2 separate regions of the Homo sapiens genome follow, and region 2 is linked to region 1. The links are contacts of gene promoters, found by promoter capture Hi-C in human tissues and cell types (Jung and others, 2019). All regions are on one chromosome and are shown on one strand. The core of a region is centred on a gene start or on the middle of the fragment in contact, and the rest is flanking DNA. Distances in the headings are between cores, read along the strand shown. Region 1 holds the start of PRDM14 (PR/SET domain 14). Region 2 overlaps XKR9 (XK related 9).

Region 1 (3,029 bases), core at 167-2,666:
CCTCACTTGGCCGGGGTAGAGCCATCCCGGGACCGCACGCTCGGCGGCTCTGCAGAAAAGCGGGCGCCGCTGAGGACACCGCGCGGGAGCTTCCCGGGGTCCGACCCGCGCCTCCCCACCAGCCTCCTCCACCCCAGCCAGCCCCAGATCCAAGGGAACAGGATAAACGCCCCCAGTCCGATCCCGCCAGCCCGCTCCCACAATTAAGACAAAACGAAAAAACAGCAATAGAAGCAAACACAAAAAAGCCCCAAACGGAAATCTGCCGGGATCCTGCCCTACTCTAAATTCCGGGTTAGTGTTGCCTTCCCCTTCCCTCTCCAAGCACCCCTTCCCTAAGCCCGGCCGCCTTCCCACACCCGCTCTCCGCTTTCGGCCCCCAACCCGGTTCCTGCAAAACCCATTGAAGTTCCCTTTCCTTCCTTCTTCTCAGTCCTACAAAACTCGTTGGTAGGGTCTGTGGGAGCCGCGGGGCCCTGCCAACCTCGGGGCTGGGCCGGGAGCCGAGCGCAGGCGGTCGGAGGGCAATGGAGCAAGCGACAGCTCCAGGCGCTCCTGGGCCCTCGGCTGGGAGGGAAGAGCCGAGGACCCTGGGTCGCACCGCGCAGATGGAGACGCGCTCCCAGAGCCCCCGGGCAGGTCCAGGGACCCCGCGACCTGCTCTGGCCCAGCGGTGTGACCCCGCGGGTCCTGGCGGTCCTGACTGCCCGCAGGGGAGGGGCGCGCCACTTTTGGCTGCCCTAGGATGCGCCGCCTGAACCTCTTTTCCCTCGCGGGCAGCGTCCGCCACATTCCCCGGGTTCCTCGGAAACTCCAATCATTCTACCAGGACTATTGGGGCCTGGGGTAGCCCCTCGGGAGCCGCGTGGACGAGCCCTGGCCAGGTGGGAGCGAAGAGCCTCGGCGACTGCCAGTCCTCCCGCCCCCGCACCGCCGGGAAAGGATGGCGTTTTAATAGACAGGCAGCAAGTTCACCGAGGCTGAAGAATGAAGCCCCTTCAGGGCCGGCGGGTCTTGAGATCAATGAGCCCAATAAGAAAACCAAGCAGGGTCATGACTCAGAAATTAAAGAACACGGGGTCAGGAGAAGAGGTCAGCCACGACACAGGCAGCGGCCCGTCTCCTCCCGATCCTCCAAAGGCGCCCTTCTCCTAGCCTCCTCCGACCTCAGGGATCTGCAACTTGGGATTCAAAGCCCCCGAGAGGGCAGAACGACCATCCAAAACGAACTGCGCCAGCGAGTGCTGCCGCCCTCCCCAACGGCCCTGGAAGACCACCGCCCCGGGCCCCAGGCGCGTCCTGTCCCGTGCCTACCTCCGACACCACCTCCAAGAGCGCCACCGCGGAGCGGGCGCCTCCTGGACGCTGCGGGGCCACTCGGGCTCGGTAGGCCACTCGGGCTCGGTAGACTTCGGGCGGGCCCTGAGGGCTGAGCCAGGCTTAAGAGGGCGGGCGGGGCCGCGGGGCATCGACAGGTCGAGGGTAGGGAATTGACCCGGCCCACGCAGATCCCCGCGTCGTCTTCTCCCCGCCCACCGCAGCCATTGGCCGACTCTCGACTCGCCCTCTGTCCCCTGGGGTCGCTCACTTAACTCATCAGTTTTCCAAACCCTCCCTGGGACCCTAGTGGCGAGCACTCGCCGCTGGCCTTCTAGGGCAGGCAGTATTGCCGCTCCAGGCGTGCGGAGTCGGGGAGAAAAAAACCGAACACGTGTGCTACCCAGGGCCCCCAGATAAGCCCCTCCGCGCGCACACACACCCTGAACCGGAGTCCAGAAGGCCGGACTCGCGTCCCGGGGTCGAGCCCCTTACTCTCCGCTCCCAGTTCGGAAGATCCCAGCCTGCCCGAAGGCGGCGTCTGACCCGCTGGTGGACCTGGTGGGTGTCTGTTCCTGATACCTGGGGACGAGGCGGGAGCGCCTTGAGCGCTGGGAAGCTTCGCCTCGCGAGTCCCCGGCAGTGACACGTGGGAGCGTTGGGCCCGGCACCCCCGACGCTTCCGAGGTTTCGGGTGGTCGTTTTGCTCTCTCGGGGGCTTTTATTCCTTAAGTGGCTTTAAACGACCGAGGATGGGCCTCCCGCGCCGCCGCAGCTGTCACTTCCTTCGGGAAAGGCTAGCGACCTTGGACGCGCAGGCTCTGAAAACCAAGGTCCAGACCCATACCGAGCGCCCAAAGACCGCATTTGAATTCTCCTCGCCGGCCATTGAGGGAGAGAAAGGAACGCTTAGTTCCATTCACATTCACAGAAAGAAGCGCCGAGGGTGGGGGAAACGCAGTCTTGCCGGGTGAGCCGGGACAGGTTCCTCGCCTGCCCCCCGGCCGCTGCTTCCTCTTAGCTGAATGGGGAGCGACCCGCCCCGGGCGCGGCCTTCGGGGCTGAAGACTGAGGTGCAGCCTCACCCCCGGCCTGGCAGCGGCTTGGAAGAGAGAGGGAAAGGAGGAACATCTACCCGGCTAAGAGACGCCGCCAGAGTCCCTAAAGCTGGCGGGGGACGGAGGCCGGGGTCCCGGATCTTCAGAGCGCCCGCAGCCGGGCTTCTGGGCTCCTCGGTGCGGGGAACCTGACCCTGTAGCCTTCGCCAGGGCGCGGCGGGGCTGCAAGAAGGGAGGAAGGAGTGGGACTAGAGCCTTCGAGGGCGCGGGCGGCGTGCACTCAGCCTTGTCTCCCCGCGCGCCCTGCCGCCTGCTTGCCCCCTTTGCTGCACCGGGTGGCCCTGGTCCCCGCGCCCGCCCGCCCCCGACGCCTTCGCGTGGTTCCGCGCTGCCCGCGGCCAGCCCCGTTTCGCTTCGCAAGGAGCGTGTTGTTTTCTCAATCGAAATGGGATCAAGATCCCAGGGTTTCCTCGTCTCCTTGTTTTGAGGTGATAGGATCTTAGCCAATAGATCGAAAACGTGAAAAGTACCCGTCGCCTCTTGTCCCAAGTGCCTCTGTGGAAGGATCATTTACTTGGAAAAGCAGAATAAATTCTGTTGCCGTTTTCCTTCCGGAGGCGTGCTCACCCCAGAGCTCCTAGACCCACTGGCATT
Region 2 (3,029 bases), core at 375-2,874, 610 kb after region 1:
TAGATCTCTAGGGCACAAATACAATCCAGCCAAGCTTTTTGCTGAGGCATAACATGGGTGATCTTTGCTCCACTTCTGAATAAGTTACTCATTTCCATCTGAGACATCAGCAGCCTGGACTTCATTGTCCATATCATTATCGGCATTTGGGTCACAACCTTTAAGAAGCTCCAAACTTTCCCTCATCTTCCCTTCTTCTCTGAGTCTTACAAACTCTTCTAGCCTCTGCCTGTTACTCAGTTCTAACACTGTTTTCATGTTTTCAGGTATCTTTATAGCAAAACTTTACTACTGGTGCCAATTTTCTGTGTTAGGCCATTCTTGCATTGCTATAAAGAAATACCTGAGACTGGGTAATTTATAAGAAAATAAGTTTAATAGGCTCATGGTTCTTCAGGCTGTACAGGAAGCAAAGTGCCAGAATCTGCTTTTGGGGAGGCCTCAGGAAGCTTACAATCATGGCAGAAGGTGAAGAGGAAGCACGTGTCTCACGTGGAGAGAGCAGGAGCAAAAAAGAGAGTAGTGGGGGAGATGCAATGCTTTACAACAACCAGATCTCACTCACTATCGTGAGGACAGCACCAAACCATGAGAGATACACCCCTATGACCCAAAACCTCCAACCAGGCCCCACCTCCAACATGGGGGATTACAATTCAACATGAGATTTGGTAGGGACATATATTCAGATTATATCATTGTCCTATTAAGTCAGTAAGTGTAAGAAGTCCCCTATGAAGCCAAACTTTGTAGGTGGCATTATTTTACCTAAGGTGGTACTGGAATAGTGATCAACCATAGAGATAGAGATGAACTATTCTTAATACAAGTTATTCAACAATTGAAAGACCTGCAGCTCTCTTTATCAGATCCGCCGTATGTATTAGCTTGCTATGTAGGTTTCCTTCTACTTGGTGTTATGTTCTGCCTGACTAAATTAGGAATATGGATATTACCATATTAGATTAATCTATTGCATCTAATGTTCTGCCAGTAACAGTTTCTGTTTCTTGGAAATTATTCTTTCCATCTTGTAAAAGTTGACTCAAAACTGCTAGTGTTGGCCAGGTATGGTACCTGTGCTGATAGTCCCAGCTACTCAGGAGGCTAAGGTGGGAGGATCACTTGAGCACAGGAATTCAAGACCAGCCTGGGTAATATAGAGAGACCCTGTCTCTTAAACAAACAAACAAACAAACAACCCAAACCTGCTACTACTATTTTTATTACTCTTGCCAGGTAAAGGAAGCTCTCTTTATGGGTAGAGAGATTAAGAAATGCACATATGGAATACTGAAGTATTATAGTCTGTAATTTTAAGGAAATTATCTACATTTAAAATCATTTAAAGCAAAATTTTAGCTTAACTATTGTGTTTTAGTCAAGTTTTATTCTTTTGAACATGTTCTCAGACTATAAAGTTTTCCTGAGAAAAAGCAGTGGAAAATAAGTTAAAGATTAAAAAAAAATAAAAAAAATCTTTTTTTGTTTTGTTTTGTGACAGGGTCTCACTTTGTTGCCCAGTCTGGAGTGCAGCGATGCCATATCAGTTCACTGCAACCCCCACTTCCTGGGCTTAAATGATCCTCCCACCTCAGCCTCCCAAGTAGCTGACACTACAGGAGCACACTACCATGCCTGGCTAATTTTTGTATTTTTTTTGTAGAGGTGGGGTTTCACCATGTTGCCCAGGCTGGTCTTGAACTCCTGGACTCAAGTGATCTGCCTGGCTCAGCCTCCCAAAGTGCTGAGATTACAGGCGTGAGCTACTGCACCTGGCCAAGATTTTTGTTTAGAAAGGTTTAGATCACATCATTTGCAATTCTAACTATATTCCCCTCTCCCTTTAATTTCACTACAGAAAAGAATAATATACAATAATAATGTGTATTCTATCTCAAATCTATAGACTGCTGTGCCTAAGTGTTATACTCACACAGCTATAAATGTTTTCTGTTTTCTCTTCAGATACTGTGTAAGTATATTGTGGGTAGGACCTAAGCATTGGAGGCAAACAGATTTTACTCATTAGAGAAAACTCACCTAAATATCCAACACCTCTATGCCTCAGTTTTCTGGTCTACAAAATGGAGTCAATAATACTGTTTTCACAGGGATTTGTGAGGATTAAATGAAATAATTTATGCCAAAAAACTTCACTTTTAGTAAACACCTAGCAGTAGTAGCTACTATTACTACCATCTATTCTTCTCCTATATAAGCAATTTTTTTCTTAGTAAAGCTTAAGAAATTATATTTTTAAGAATGATATTAGAACAGGATTTGTATACACATTAAACATATCCAGTAGAACCATGCTAAGGAATTTCTGACAATATTTTTTGAAACTTTTGTTTTTGAAGGATTCAAAATCTAGTGCATTAGACTTTTGAACTAGCTGTTCCTTCAAGCTGGAAGGCTTTTCCATCTCTATGCACATGGCCAATTTCACTACTCAAATGCCACCTTCTCAGTGAGTCCTGCCCTGACCAATCTAATTAATGTCACAGCCCATGATATGCCCATCTCTACTGTAATTGCTGATCTTCCTTACTATGCTTTATTTTTTCCATAGCACTTACCACCTTCTAATATATTTGATTTATTAATTATTTTTTATTGTTAATTGACTATATTTTGAATTTTATGTTTAAGAATGATACATAATAGATGTACATATTTTTGAGGTGCATGTGATAATTTAATACATTCATATAATTTATAAAGATCAAATCATTGTAGTTGAGATACCCCTTGATTATCTTTCTGTGCTAGGATATAAGTTCCACAGGGGCAGGAATATTTGTCTCTCATCACTTGATATATCCAGGAAAGCCTAAAACAGCACATGGTAGTTTCTAAGTAAATATTTAATTAGTTCAATTGAGCAGAACCTCCCGATTAATCTCATCCTCCTAAACCCCATGTGTATGTTGGCTTGAGGTCTTTCATGTTAGCATAAGAAACCTGCTGCAGGGAAATTCATGGCCCACTAGATTTTTAAAACTCAGTTTTTAAACTGTTTTTTT

Evidence for each region. The method cuts DNA at HindIII sites, captures the fragments that hold promoters and counts their contacts. A contact is called where the count stands out against the background at its distance.
Region 2: a fragment that was not itself captured here is called in contact with the fragment with the promoter of PRDM14 in region 1 in 1 of the 25 tissues and cell types used here (spleen).

The regions. Positions count from the first base shown.
Region 1 is chr8:70,069,836-70,072,864 of GRCh38, forward strand. PRDM14 (PR/SET domain 14) reads right to left here and starts at 1,417. Exons shown (of 8, transcript NM_024504.4): 1 at 1,315-1,417; 2 at 1-49. The coding sequence starts at 25. RefSeq lists enhancers at 911-1,640, 1,641-2,370. The HindIII fragment of the contact is 14,761 bases long and covers 1-3,029 here.
Region 2 is chr8:70,675,667-70,678,695 of GRCh38, forward strand. All of the region lies in intron 2 of XKR9 (XK related 9), which reads left to right. Among named protein-coding and RNA genes, the nearest start is that of XKR9, 7.8 kb to the left of the region's middle. The HindIII fragment of the contact is 4,521 bases long and covers 1-3,029 here.